Regions from separate parts of the Homo sapiens genome. Here region 2 is linked to region 1. The links are contacts of gene promoters, found by promoter capture Hi-C in human tissues and cell types (Jung and others, 2019). All regions are on one chromosome and are shown on one strand. Each heading gives the region's core, a stretch centred on a gene start or on the middle of the fragment in contact. The rest is flanking DNA. Distances are from core to core; before and after follow the strand shown. Region 1 holds the start of AASS (aminoadipate-semialdehyde synthase). Region 2 overlaps AASS (aminoadipate-semialdehyde synthase).

Region 1 (6,994 bases), core at 4,320-6,819:
AGTCCTCAAACTTCAACCAAATAAACTCTTCACTTATATTAAGTTTGCCTCAGTTTTTTCCTTTAGGTCGACACTCCTAAACCTGGTCTGTTAGCTCTCTCCAGCTCAACCCCCAGAAAGATTACTTGTGTGTTTTATTTGTGCTTTAATTTTTTCCCATCTTCTTCCCCAATCTTTTCTTAGTTCTTTAAAACATCTTTTCTTTTGAGACTTTTGCTCAAAAGAAGATGGGGAAGGGAACACTGGATTTTCTTCCTGGATTTGCATACATTAGATCCATTATGTCAGTGAGATATATCCTGAAATTTGCATTCTCCAAATTTGCTTATATTATTATAAAATATAACTGTCATGCATTCATTACAGTGAAGTGTAACTGAAAATTCAAAAGTCCTGATAGACTTTTGGTAACAGTTACTAAGCGGGCAGTTACGAGCAGCAAATCTGCTGAGTGAGGTGTACCGCACGTGTAACTTTCAAAAGAAGCCACAGACTCTTGGGAAGTTTTTTTAAAACATTAGAAGCCAATAAAAGTTGGCCCTAAAATGCCAAGAGGCTTGGAATTTTCTTGAAATTTTTTCAAGAAGGATTCCCTAAATATGACTAATGACTAATGGCAGAGGAGGTAAACTAGGAATTCATTTTCTTTCCTTCTTTCATCTAAGGGTGGTGGTCGTGGGGGAGAACGGTCCTGGTTGCAGGAAGTGAGATTTAGATTTACCTGTGGGTGGTTCCTGCTCTTGTTTTACCTGAATTGATTTTTAAATTCTTTGCAAGTAAAAAATGTGTGTGTCATTTACAAGACAATATGAGAGTTAGGCAACAATAGTAATTGTCATTTAAAAACTTTTCTTTTCTAAATTACTTCTTATTTTGAATTTGCAGTTTCTGCCTATAAGGCAGTTCTATTTACAATAAGTAGAATAATTTATTAGGGTGGGCATATCATAGATGATATGGTAAAAATTGCTGTTCATTTAAGAAATACAATTAGTCTTGACTTGATGTCATCCATAGGTTCTTGGAAACTATGACTTTAAGCAAAATGACATATATATATATATGTATGTAACAAAACCATTTTTTCTTATCAATGTTATAACAAAACTATATTGAATAAAATTATGCTATTCAATGACCTGCTGCATGTTGTTTTGCTTAAAGTCACAGTTTCCAAGAACGTGTTGATGATGTTAAGTGAGGACTTAAATGTATAAAATTTTGAGAAATAAATGGAACACATTTAGGAGCATGCTGGATTTCTTCCTCCTTCTCCTCTCAAATACCTACTTGTTTTATCTTTATAGAAAAACTTATTTAAAAGTGAGACTGGGTTCCAAATGCAATGAAAGGTGAGGGGGTGATAAAACAGGACAAACTAGTAAGCTTTAACATTAGCTCACATATATTAAGAACATGGCTCATTTAATCTTGACAACCCTATGATGTTCTCCACTGTCCTGATGGGAGAAAGCGAGACTTAGTGACTTGCTAGTGAGAGGCAAAGAAGGGATTAAATCTAAGTCCCATTCACTCTGGTGCTCAAGTGCCAAACCACTACCTTTCAGGACCTCACAGGAAGAACCAGACGAAAATAGAGAATGACTGGGGAAGAGAGAAAACCAAAGTAGGTGGGAGAAAGAGAGGCAGCCTGAGTGGCTAGAATCAACTTCCCAATTTCAGGAGCACGGACTCAGCACCCAATGTGGATGGAAGAGGTCTCCCTTATTAAAAACATTTGAGGGATTGACTGCAGGAGCTGACCTGAGGGGTATCCAAGGTTTGTTTTTGTCTCTCATCTGTTATCCCTTTTCATTATAAAGAAATTTCTGAGATCTGTCACACTCATTACAACAAATGTCACTACACTGAAAAATGTTTGAAATTCCTCATTTCAAGAACCAGTATTTCTCATGTGTATATTTTGCAAAATTCCTAAAGTAAAGCAAGAGAGAAGCACACTGAGCCTCAGGTCCTTGTTGAAGTCATGATGGTCCAGGGCCCTTTCCCAGCTTTTCCTACTTAGGAATTAAATTTCAGCAGTTTTTCCATGAGCGTTCAATCATTTGCAGTGGGATTCACAGTGACCAGTCATACGATTCATTCATTTCAACAAGTAGTTGCTGAAAACATTTTGTGTTGAATATTCTCCTTTGAACCCTCTAGAATTTCTGTCCCTTTCTGCACCTGCTCTGCCCCCAGAATGGGAGGTGATCTTTTTGGACTTCACTAACAATCTGGCTCTATTTATGTCCAAATAGTAGAAGCCATCAGCAGGAGATGAAGGGGCAGGAGGAGAGTGAAGTAAGATTATTCCTTCCCTATGGAAGAACAGGGGTCTGCAAACTGTAGCCCAGAGGCCCTATCTGCCCTGCAGCCTACTTTTGTAAATTAAGTTTTATCAAAACACAGCCACACATATCCATTTAAATATGGCCTATAGCTGCCTTTTACATTCCAGCCAGCAGAGTTGAGTAGTCATGACATGACAGAGATGGTATGATCTGTGAAGCCTAAAATATTTATTTTCTGGCCCTTTACAGAAAAAAGTTTGTTGACCCCTGCCTTAGGTAGGTTCCTCTTCAGGTAGGATTAATCTTTTTTTGTTTGTTTTTGAGATGGAGTCTCACTCTTGTCACCCAGGCTGGAATGCAGTGGTGTCATCTCGGCTTACTGCAACCTCCTCCTCCCGGGTGCAAGCGATTCTCCTGCCTCAGCCTCCCAAGTAGCTGGGATTACGGGCCCTTGCCACCATGCCTGGCTAATTTTTGTATTTTTAGTAGAGACAGGGTTTCACCATGTTGGCCAGGCTGGTCTCAAACTCCTGACCTCAGGTGATCTGCCCACCTTGGCATTCCAAAGTGCTGGGATTACAGGCATGAGCCACTGTGCCCGGCCGGCAGGATTAATCTTTAGGCAGCTTTATTCCTGTCACAAACCACTACTGTTGGTTGAATGGCACTCTCTACAGCTACAGCTACAGCTACACTACAGGTAGAACTATTCCTGAGTTCTGGTAATTATTTCTTTCCCTGGCCCTGTTTAGGCCTACGAGTGATTGTCAGTGTTGCTAGTCCCAGGGACTACATGGCACATATACTGCCACTTTCCTTTATCCCTGCATACACTCAGTCCTTTTGTGTCTCCTAATTTACCCAGTTGGATTGTGCCACCTATTTCCTGCTAAGACCCCAACTGACTTATTACACGCATAGCATCGTACTAGAAGCAATAAATAAATAGAAAAGAAAAGAAAAGAGGAAGTCCACGTACATATTCTTATTTTATGGTGGTGATGACAGGTGAGCTGAGCAATGTGGATAAGGTAAGTATGAATAACTGTGATAAAAGGAAGAATGTGATAAGTACAATAAGAGAGGCCAATACACAAGGGAGAAGGGAAACAATCACATGTGGTTGAAATATTCAGGAAAGTTTTCATTATTTAAGTGGCATTTGAGCTGAACCCCAAAGGGCTGGTTAGTTTTAGAAAGGTGAATATTTTTGTAAATTAGAATTACAGATAAGTCTACAACATGAGGTATTTGGAGGAAAATAAATAATGATTTCCAGTTTCTTCAGTGAGACAATTAACAGGGCACTTTGGCCATTATCTCATTTTGTTCTCATGACTCCACGAAGTAGTGGCTATTATTAACCCATTAACAGATAATGGAGCACAGGCTTTTTTTGAAAACTAAGTAACTTGCCCATGATTTACAACTCAAAGGAGAAGAGTAAGGATTCTTACATTCTTACCCAGATGCTTAATCCTTAGGAAGATAGCAAGGCATAAATTGTGTTTCAGTGGTGGTTTCAGGCTGGTTCTGCTGCAGAAATAAAGCCAAGGTCATTGATTTTGGCCACATCTGAAGCAACTAACATTATGTGAAGAACGTTGGGCTAATGTTCCACAAGTACTGGGTAGTCTCTGAGGCTTTTTGCTTAGGCCAATGAGACAATTGGAGTTGTATGCTTAAAAAAATATGGTCTACGTTATATATAAAAAGGGGTTTGAAGTAGGGTGATAGTAGTGGGGTTTTTAAAGGACAGTGTCAACACCAAGGGTAAGGCTGAGGGGCCAGAGGAAGAACTGAAGTGACCGTGGCTTTTTAAGTCTGGATAGGTGGTGAGTAGGAAGGCAGTGATATTAGTAACAGAGCTGGTGAGCACAAAAGGGAAGGCTTTATTTTATTTTATTTTTTGAGACAGGGTCTTACTCTGTCACCCAGACTACAGTGCAGTGGCATGATCATGGCTCACTGCAGCCTCAACATCCTGCGGCTCAAGTGATCCTTCCACCTTAGCCTCCTAAGTAGTTGGGACCACAGGTATGTGCCACTACACCTGGCTTTTTAAAATTTTATTTATTTTTATTATTTTTATTTTTAGTAGACACAGGTCTTGCTACGTTGCCCAGGTTAGTCTTAAACTCCTGGGCTCAAGTGATTCTCCAGCCTCAGTCTCCCAAAGTGCTGAGATTACAGGTGTGAACCACTACACAGCCTTTGGAAGACTTTCCAAGAATGATAAGGGATCCGATTTTGGAAATGTGAAGCTGAAGATACAGAAGAAAATTCCAACTCTACTTACAGATAAAATTCTAATTTGGGGTTGGGCACAGTGGCTAACACCTGTAATCCCAGTGCTTTGGGAGGACGAGGTGGGAGGATAGCTTGAGGCTAGGAGTTCCAGACCAGTGTCCTGGTCAACACAGCGAGACCCCATGTCTACCACAAATAAATAAATAAATAATTTTCTCTGCAATTGGAGATATGAGTGGAGTCTCAAGAACGTTCTGGCTATAGATTGTTGACATAGGAGTTCAGTAGCTAAATACATCTATGGCAGGTATAAGAAGAGTAAGTGGTGGAGAAAGTTGTAAAAACAGGAGGGAAGATTAACTTCTGACCGTTGACGCCTTGGGGAATCACAGCTGGGCTTCAGACGATTCTTCAGTTCCTAGTGCTGGGGCTAGTGTCTATGAAATACGTTTTCCCCCTCCCTCCAGGCCTCCTAGGTAGTTAGGACTTTTCAATAACATTGGACATTGCCATATGCACATGAACACACTCAGTTTTAATTTCTCAGATTCTCCGCTTGCTGGCTTCTAAAACTGTTGTAAGAACTGTTATCTGGCTTCACAGGGTTGTGACAAGGCGGTGAAATGCTTTGAAAAGTGTCTATAGCTAAACAAACGTGAGGTACCGGCGCTCGCAACTTTTCCCCAGGAGATGTGCACCTCTATTTAGAGCGTAATGCCCAGACTATTTTCGTTGCTTTCCGTCCCCGCCCGCCTTCTGCCACGGACAGTTACAAACCTGGTCGATAATTATCCTGGGAGAACTCGACGTCCCAGCTAAGAACGCAGGTCAGAGATCAGAGATCAGAGACAGAAGGATCTTGGGGAGGAGCAGGGGCCGGGCATGACGTAGCAACTGGCAGCGCCGCCGATTGGCAGATGAGAAGGTTGTTCCCTCAGGGCGGCTGCTGATTGGCTACGGGAGGCAGAGGCGTGACGTCCTCAGAAGTTGAGCAAACACCTCCTACTTCCCGGCCTTCCATCCCAGTTTCTTCTAGGAATTCGGAGCCTCCCCTGCAGCGACTCGGAAGATTCGAGGCGGCGGGGGACAAGTCGGCGCCCCAGAGCGGACGAGGTGAGGAGAGGAGAGGTCCCCGCGGAGAGCTGAGCAGACGCGCGGGTGGGCTCAGCCTGTGAGATGCGGTGGAGATAGCGGGCCGGGCTCGGGCTGTCGCTGGGAGGGGCCCGCGAGCCTGGCCTTCGGGTCCCGGCGCCGCGAGGCGACCCCGGCCGGGCCGAGAGAGGGAGAAGGCGGCGAGCATTCGGGCCTCCCTGCGAGGAATGGAGGGAGAGCGGAAACGCAGAGAGTTTCACTGCGAGGAAGGGAGGGAGAGCGGTCAGCGCAGCTCCAGCATTTCTAAGTAGAAAGGCGAGGGATTGCAATTCGGATTTCTTTTCTTTCTTTTTTGGCGGACAGTGGTGGTGCTGTGGCTGGGGAATAAAGAACTGATGAAGCTGAGGAAACAACGGCTTGTTAATTTGTGGACGGCGTGCTTAGAGGGGACGGCTGGCTGAGGGGGCGGTGGATGGAGATTTCGGGGTGGTTCTTTCCCCCTTCCCTCCCCACGCCCAGCTTAGCCAAACTGATCACAAACTTCTCTCCTTGTCCATCTTGGGCTGCCCACTCTCCGAGACACAGACCCATTCTCCAGCAAGGATCGGAGATGGGTGGAAGTTGGGCGCCTTGCAAGTCTGGGTTTCCTGAACTCTTCAGCCCCTGCGGGACTATGCAGCCCATTGTGAGCGCTCGCGCGGGACGGGGCGCGGGGAGAAGCAGTTTACCCACCCTCCTCGGTTGAATGGGGCTGAATGTCTGTCTATCCTGACAGCTTCAGAAGAAGAAATGTGCTTTTCAGACATTGATTTCAGGGGAATGGGGGTGGGGGGAGCGGAAGAGAGAGAGAGAAAGAGCGCTCGAGCGCGAGAGAGAATGAATTAGTTCAGTAACTTGAACAAGGATTAACATTTTTTGATGTTGTGGGTTATCAGTGGGGAAGGTGCAGCTGTGAGATGTAGTTATACACAGGACGGAATGGTCCTTGACTGAAGCTGCGGCTTTCCAATACTGTATTAAAAAAAATCCCAAAACACTGATGGCACTTTGGTGTTTCTGGGTTTGTCTGTTTTGTCCCCTGCACTCCCCTCTTCTTTTTTTCCCATGAAGATGAGTGAATCTAGGGCTACATGACTTGACTGTGTAACCTGGTGGCCATTCTGCAAAATGAGTTAGGTGGACAAAAATTGAAGCCAATTTACCTGAATCATTTTCCCACTCTTCAGATAATCATATTTGTTATCAGTTTCACTTGTTATTGATGATGGCGTGATCAGAACTTTGGTTTATTTGTCATTGAATTTTTTTTCTCACTAGTCGTTTAACAGACCTTGGTTCGGAATTTTGGAAATGATCTT
Region 2 (7,134 bases), core at 357-2,856, 37 kb after region 1:
ACAGTGTTTTGATGGAGTCTTTAGGGTTTTCTATATATAAGATTTCGTCATCTTCAAACAAGGACAATTTGACTTCCTGCTTTCCAATTTGGGTACCTTTGTTTTCTTTTTTTTTGCCTAGTTACACTGACTAGAACATCCAGTACTATGTTGAATAGTAGCATCCTTTTCTTGTTCCATATCTTAGAGAAAAAGCTTTCAATTTTCCATGATCAGTATGATGTTAGCTGTGGGTCTGTCAAATATGGCTTTTATTATGTTGAGGTATGTACCCTGTATGCCAAATTTGATGAAAGTTTTTATCATAAGGTGATGTTGAATTTGTCAAATATTTTTTTCTGTTTCTGTTGGAATAATCATATGGTTTTTGTCCTTCATTCTGTCAATGTGATAAATTATGTTTATTAATTTGCATATGTTGAACCATTCTTGCACCCCTGGAATGAATCCCATTTATTATGGTGAATGCTCTTGTAAATATGCTGTTAAATTTGGTTTTCTAGTATTTTGTTGAAAATTTTTGTATCTATGTTCTTCAGGGATATTGGCCTGAAGTTTACTTTTTTTGTTACGTCCTTGTCTGATTTTGGTATCACAATAACACTGGCCTTATAGAATTAGTTTGGAAGAATTCCCTCCTCCTTGATATTCTGGAATAGTTTGAGAAGAATTGGTATTAAATCTTCTTTAAATGTTTGGTAGAGTTCAGTAGTGAAACCATCAGGCCCTGGGCTAGTCTTTGATGGGAGACTTTTTATTACTGATTCAATCTTGCTGCTTGTTATCGATTCGCCTATTCAGATTGTTTATTTTTTTCTGGTTCAATCTTGGTAGGTTGTATGTGTCCAGGAATTTGTTCATTTCTTCTAGGTTTTCCAAGTTTTTGGCATATCATTGTTCATAATGCTCTCTTATGATCCTTTGTATTTCTGTGGTATAAGTTGTAATGTCTCCTTTTTCATCTGTGTTTTTTTTTTTTTTTTTGAGTTGTGGGTGATTTGTTATGCAATAATGTTGCAGAAGCTAATACATACTTAAAAAAAACTTTTAGGTTCAGGGGTACATGTGCAGGTTTGTTCTATAGGTAAACTTGTGTCACGAGGGGTGGATGTGCAGATTATTTCATCACCAGGGTATTAAGCCTACTACCCAATAGTCATTTTTTGTGCTCCTCTCCCTTCTCCCTCAGGAAGGCCCCAGTGTGTGTTGTTCCCCTCTATGTGTCTATGTGTCCTCATCATTTAGCTCCTGCTTATAAGGGAGAGCATGCAGTATTTGGTTTTCTGTTCCTGCATTAATTTGCTAAGGATAATGGCTTCTAGCTCTATCCATGTTCCTGCAAAAGACATGATCTCATTCTTTTTTATGGCTTCATAGTATTCCATGGTGTACCACATGTTCTTTATACAGTCTATCATTTATAGGCATTTAGGTTGAGTCCATGTCTCTGCTATTTACAATAGCGCTCCAATGAGCACTCTTTACAACAGCATGTGCATGTGTATGTGTCCTTATGATAGAACATTTTATATTCCTTTGGGTATATTACCCAGTAATGGATTGCTGGGTTGAAGAGTAGTTCTGTTTTTAGCTCTTTGAGGAATTGCCACACTGCTTTCCACAATGGTTGAACTGATTTTTACTCCCACCAACAGTGTATAAGCATTCGTTTTTCTCCACAACCTCACCAGCATCTGTTATGTTTTGACCTTTTAGTAATATCCATTCTGACTAGTGTGAGACGGTATCTCATTGTGGTTTTGATTTGCATTTCTTTAATTATCAGTGATGTTGAATTTGTTTTCATATGCTTGTTGACTGCATGTATGTCTTCAATTGAAAAGTGTCTGTTCATGTCCTTTGCCCAGCTTTTAATGGGGTTGTTTGTTTTTTCTTGTAAATTTAAGTTTTTATAGAAGCTAGATATTAGACTTTTGTCAGATGCATAGTTTGCAAATATTTTCTCCCATTCTGTAGATTGTTTACTCTGTTCATAGTTTCTTTTGCTGTGCAAAACCCCCTTAGTTTAATTAGATCCCATTTGTTGCATTTGTTTTTGGTGTCTTCATCATGAAATCTTTGCTAGTTCCCATGTCCAGAATGGTTTTGCCTAGATCATCTTCCAGGGTTTTTATAATTTTGGGTTTTACATTTCATTCTTTAATCCACTTTGAGTTGATTTACACCATTTTATATGCTGTAAGGAAGTGATCCAGTTTTAATCTTCTGCATATAGCTAGCCAGTTATCCCAGCACCATTTATTAAACAGGGAGTCCTTTCCTCATTGTTTGTTTTTGTCAGCTTTGTTGAAGATCAGATGGTTGAAGATGTGTGGCCTTATTTTTGAGCTCTCTATTCTGTTTTATTGGTCTTTGTGTCTGGTTTTGTACGAGTCTTATGCTGTTTTGGTTACTGTAGCCCTGTAATATAGTTTGAAGTCAGGTAGCATGATACCTCCAGCTCTGTTTTTTTTTGTTTAGGATTGCCTTGGCTATTCTGCTTCTTTTTGGTTCCATATGAATTTTAAAATAGTTTCTTTCTAGTTCTATGAAGAATGTCATGGGTAATTTGATAAGAATAGCATTGAATCTATAAATTGCTTTGGGCAGTATGGCCATTTTAATAACATTGATTCCCCTTGAAAACTGGCAACAAGGATGCCCTCTTTTACCACTTGCATCCAACATAGTATTGGAAGTCCTGGCCAGAACAATCAGGCAAGAGAAAGAAATAAAAAGCATTCAAATAGGAAGAGAGGAAGTCAAATTATCCCTTTTTGCAGATGACATGATTCTATATCTAGACAACCCCCTAGTCTTAGCCCAAAAATTAAGCTGATAAACAATTTCAGCAAAGTTTCAGGATACAAAATCAACATACAAAAATCACTAGCATTTCAACACACCAACAACAGTCATCTAAAATTTTATTCATTTGAGTCTTTTCTCCTTAGGCAGACACAGGGTTTGTTGATTTTGTTTACCTTTTCAAACAAACTCTTTGTTTCATTGATCTTTTATATTTTTTAAGTCTCTATTTTGTTTATGTCTTCTCTAACCATCATTATTTCTTTGTGTCTACTAATTTTGGGTTCAGTTTGTTCCTGTTTTTCTTGGTCCTTGAGGTGCAACATTGGGTTATCTGAGATCTTTGTTCTTTTTTGAAATAGGCATTTCAAAATTGCTATAAACTTCCTTCTGAGTACTGCTTTTGCTGTATCCCATAGGTTTTGGTAGGTTGTGTTTTCATTTTCATTTGTCTCTAGAAATTTTTAAATTTCCCTTTTAGTTTCTCTATTGACTCCTTGATTGATGAGGATTATGTTGTTTAATTTGCATGTGTTTGTAGTTTCCAAAGTTTCTCTTGTTATTGATTTCTAGCTTCATACCACTGTGATCAGAAACAATACTTAATATGATTTCAATTTTTTTGAATTTGTTAAGACATATTTTGTGGCCTACCATATGGTCTATTCTGGAGAGCATTCTATATGTACTAGAGAAGAATGCGTACACTGGTGCTACTGGATAAAAAGTTCTATATTTATCTATTAGGTCCATTTTGTCTAAAGCACAGATCAATTCCAGTATTTTCTTATTAATTTCTTTCTGGTTGATCTTTCCATCTTTGAAAGAGGGGTATTGAAGTCTCCTACTATTATTGTTTTGGTATCTATTTTTTACCTTCATGTTGATTAATTAATATTTGCTTTATATGTTTAGGTGTTCCAATGTTGAGTGCACATGTATTTACAATTGCTATGACTTCTTAATGACTTGAGCTCTTTAATAATGACTTTCTTTGTCTCTTGTGAAAATTTTTGTGTTAAGTTTTTTCTATCTAGAATAAGTATTGTCCCTGTCCTCTGTTGGTATTATTTGCAAGGAATATCTTCTTTCATCCCCTTTGAGGGATGAAAGCCTATGTGCATTCTTAAGGTGAAAGTGTGTCTCTTGTGTGCAGCATATAGTGAGAGCTTATTTTTTTTTTCTCTTTGCAACTTTTATTTTAGGTTCGGGGGTACATGTGCAGTTTTATTACATGAGTAAATTGCATGTCACTGGGGTTTGGAGCACAAATGAATTCGTCACTAAAGTAGTGAGCATAGTACCTGATAGGTAGTTTTTCAGTCTTCACCCTCCTCCCATCCTCCACCCTCAAGTATACCCTGGTTTCTATTGTTCCCTTCTTTGTGTCCATGTGTACTCAGTGTTTAGCTCCCACTTATAACTGAGAACATGTGGTATTTGGTTTTCTGTTCCTACATTAATTTGCTTAGGATAATGGCCTTCATCTGCATCCAGATTGCTGCAAAGGACGTAGTTTCATTGTTTGTTTATTTTTGAGGCAGTCTTGCTCTGTCACCTAGGCTGGTGTAGTGGCACCATCTCATTTCACAAACCTCTGCCTCCTGGGTTCAAGCAATTCTCCTGCCTCAGCTTCCCCAGTAGATGGGATTACAGGTGCCCACCACCAAGCCTGGCTAATGTTTGTATTTTTAGTAGAGACAGGGTTTCACCATGTTGGCCAGGGTGGTCTTGAACTTCTGACATCAGGTGATCTGCTCACCTTGGCCTCTCAAAGTGCTGGGATTACAGGTGTGAGCCACTGTGCCTGGCCAATTTCATTCTTTTTTATGGCTGCATAGTATTCCATGGTGTATATATACCACATTTTCTTTATCCAATTCACCACTGATGGGTATCTAGATTGGTTCCATAACTTTGCTATTGTGAATAGTAGAGCTTTGTTTTTTTAATCCATTCAGCCACTCTGTGTTTTAATTGAACAATTTAATCTGTTTACATTCAGAGTAATTATTGATATGCCAAGGACTTACTACTGCCATTTTGTTAAATGTTTTCTGATTGCTTTATAGCTTATTTGTTCTTTTTTTCCTCTCCTGTTTATCTTTGTGATTTAGTGATTTCCTTTAGTGCTAAATTTGTATTCTTTTATCTTTATCATTTGTATATCTGCTTTAGTATTCTGCTTTGTGGTTACCACAAGGCTTACATAAAATGTCTTATAGTTATAATAGACTATTTTATACTAATAACAACTTAAATTCAGTTGCATACAAAAACTGTAGAATTCTACCCTCCCACCAGCGTGTGTGTGTGTGTATAGTATATATAGTATATATACACACATATATATGTATATGTACATATATTCATATTTCTTTTTTACCTTTCTGAGTTGGGTGCAACCAGTTAATATTTTTTGATGTCACAATTTTCATCTTTTTAGCTTACATATTTCTTAATACTTTATTGTAGCTATCATTATTTTTGACTGTTTTGAATTTTAACTTCCATCCTAGAGTTATATATACCTATGTTTTGCAGAGTGCCATAGTAGTATCAGGGTATTCTGGATTTGAATATATATCTACCTTTATCAGTGGATTTTTTTACTTTTTATGTTTTCATGTTAGTAATGTTCTTTTTTTCTACTTGAAAAACTCCCTTAAGCATTTCTTATAGAGCAGCTCTAGTGGTGAAGAATTCCCTAAACTTTTGCTTGTCTGGGAAAGAGTTTATTTCTTCTTTTTTTCTGAAGGACAGCTTTGCTGTGTATAGTATTTTTGGCTGGCAGGTTTCTGTGCATCAGCACTTTGAATATATCATCCCATTCTCTCCTGGCCTGCAGGATTTCTACTGAGAAATCTGCTGATAGTCTAATGGAGATTCCCTTATATGTAACATGATATTTTTATCTTGCTGCTTTTAATATCATTTGTCTTTGGTTTTTGACAGTAATTATAAAGGGACCTCTTTGGGTTAACTCTGTTTGGAGATTGTTGAGCTTCATATATTTGGATGTTCATCTGTCTTCCAAGGCTTGAAACATGTTATTTTTCATTTATCAAAAACTTATATTCACTAATTTTAAAGTTTTACATTTTTTAAAAAAGTTATCTATATTGTCCTTTTATTTTTTGAACATATTAATCACAATTTAGAATCATTTTTGTTAATTCCATTACACTTCTTGGTTCTATTTATGTTCCCTGTTTTTTTCCTTGGTTTTTATGGTTTTCAGTAAATTCTTACCTTTCAATATATTTATTTATTTTTGGTTTAATGCCAGACATTGCGTATTCAAAATTTTAGAGATGACTCGAGGCTCTGGATGTTGTGTGATTTTCCTCCAGATAATATATTCTTTGTTTTGGGCAGTGAGATAGACAAGGGTAAAGGTTAGGAGAAATTCACCTAAATTCAGTTAGGATGAAGTAATTTAAATCTAGGTTTCAGTCCTTTGGAGAACTGACCTTTTTCAAATTACCATTTATTTTAGATACATGAAAACCATTTTCTATTTATTTTAATACAGTAAATAAATTCTCTGTTACCAGCACCTTCTAGGAACATTTTTCTTGTTCTTAGTTGGGTGAGAGAGCTAGATCTTAACCTATAGTTAGGGAGGAAAGATTGTCTCATTGGCTCTTCCCTGTCCACCAGAAACAGCAATGCTAACTTATATGCCATTACTTCTTGGCAGTATATTCAAGAATTGGGTTCTTTGAGAAGGACTAACTTACATGCCCATTACTTCTTGGCAGTATATTCAAGAGTTGGGTTCCTTGGGAGAAAAGAGGAGGACTAGAAGGTTGCTGAAATGTTAACATGAGACATCTTACTTTTTTTGTTGTCTCTGACTCAATTTTGCAAGATAATGTGAAGAGGGTGTGAATGACTTTCTAGGTCTACTCAGTCAAGTCACTTTTGCTACCACCTTTGAAATGCTGATGTACCTATACATATAACTACTAATACTGATACTGATCTGAGGGAGACCCCTTACTGCAGGGTTGGTGGCCTTGCTGAGTGGAAAACCTCATTCTCTATTCCTAATAGAACAGCTTGAACTTTTGGAATGGAGTAGAGGCCCTTGAAGGGAGGACTATAGCTATAAAGCTTGTGAAGATATTTGACAACATGCTTAATATGATACATTTAACTGGTTGGAAAGGATAAGCTTTTTTGTGTTCACAGCAAGCAAAGATGATTATAATCCAATTTTAGTTTTAAAATTGGGACTTGTGCTGAAACACCATAGTCTTGTGGGCAGAGTTGATTGCTTGTAGAAGACTTCTATTAGCAATCACTTATACTCGGTGATCC

Evidence for each region. Contacts are between HindIII fragments. The study calls those that stand out against the background at their distance.
Region 2: a contact is called between a fragment that was not itself captured here and the fragment with the promoter of AASS in region 1, in 1 of the 25 tissues and cell types used here (aorta).

The regions. Positions count from the first base shown.
Region 1 is chr7:122,142,824-122,149,817 of GRCh38, reverse strand. It overlaps AASS (aminoadipate-semialdehyde synthase), which reads left to right and starts at 5,569. Exons shown (of 24, transcript NM_005763.4): 1 at 5,569-5,657. LOC102724527 (a long non-coding RNA gene) reads right to left here and starts at 5,404. Exons shown (of 6, transcript XR_007060500.1): 1 at 5,322-5,404. RefSeq lists enhancers at 5,189-5,238, 6,240-6,745 and a silencer at 5,739-5,938. The HindIII fragment of the contact is 13,093 bases long and covers 1-6,994 here.
Region 2 is chr7:122,101,801-122,108,934 of GRCh38, reverse strand. The region is part of intron 11 of AASS (aminoadipate-semialdehyde synthase); the gene reads left to right. Among named protein-coding and RNA genes, the nearest start is that of AASS, 39 kb to the left of the region's middle. The HindIII fragment of the contact is 3,910 bases long and covers 1-3,561 here.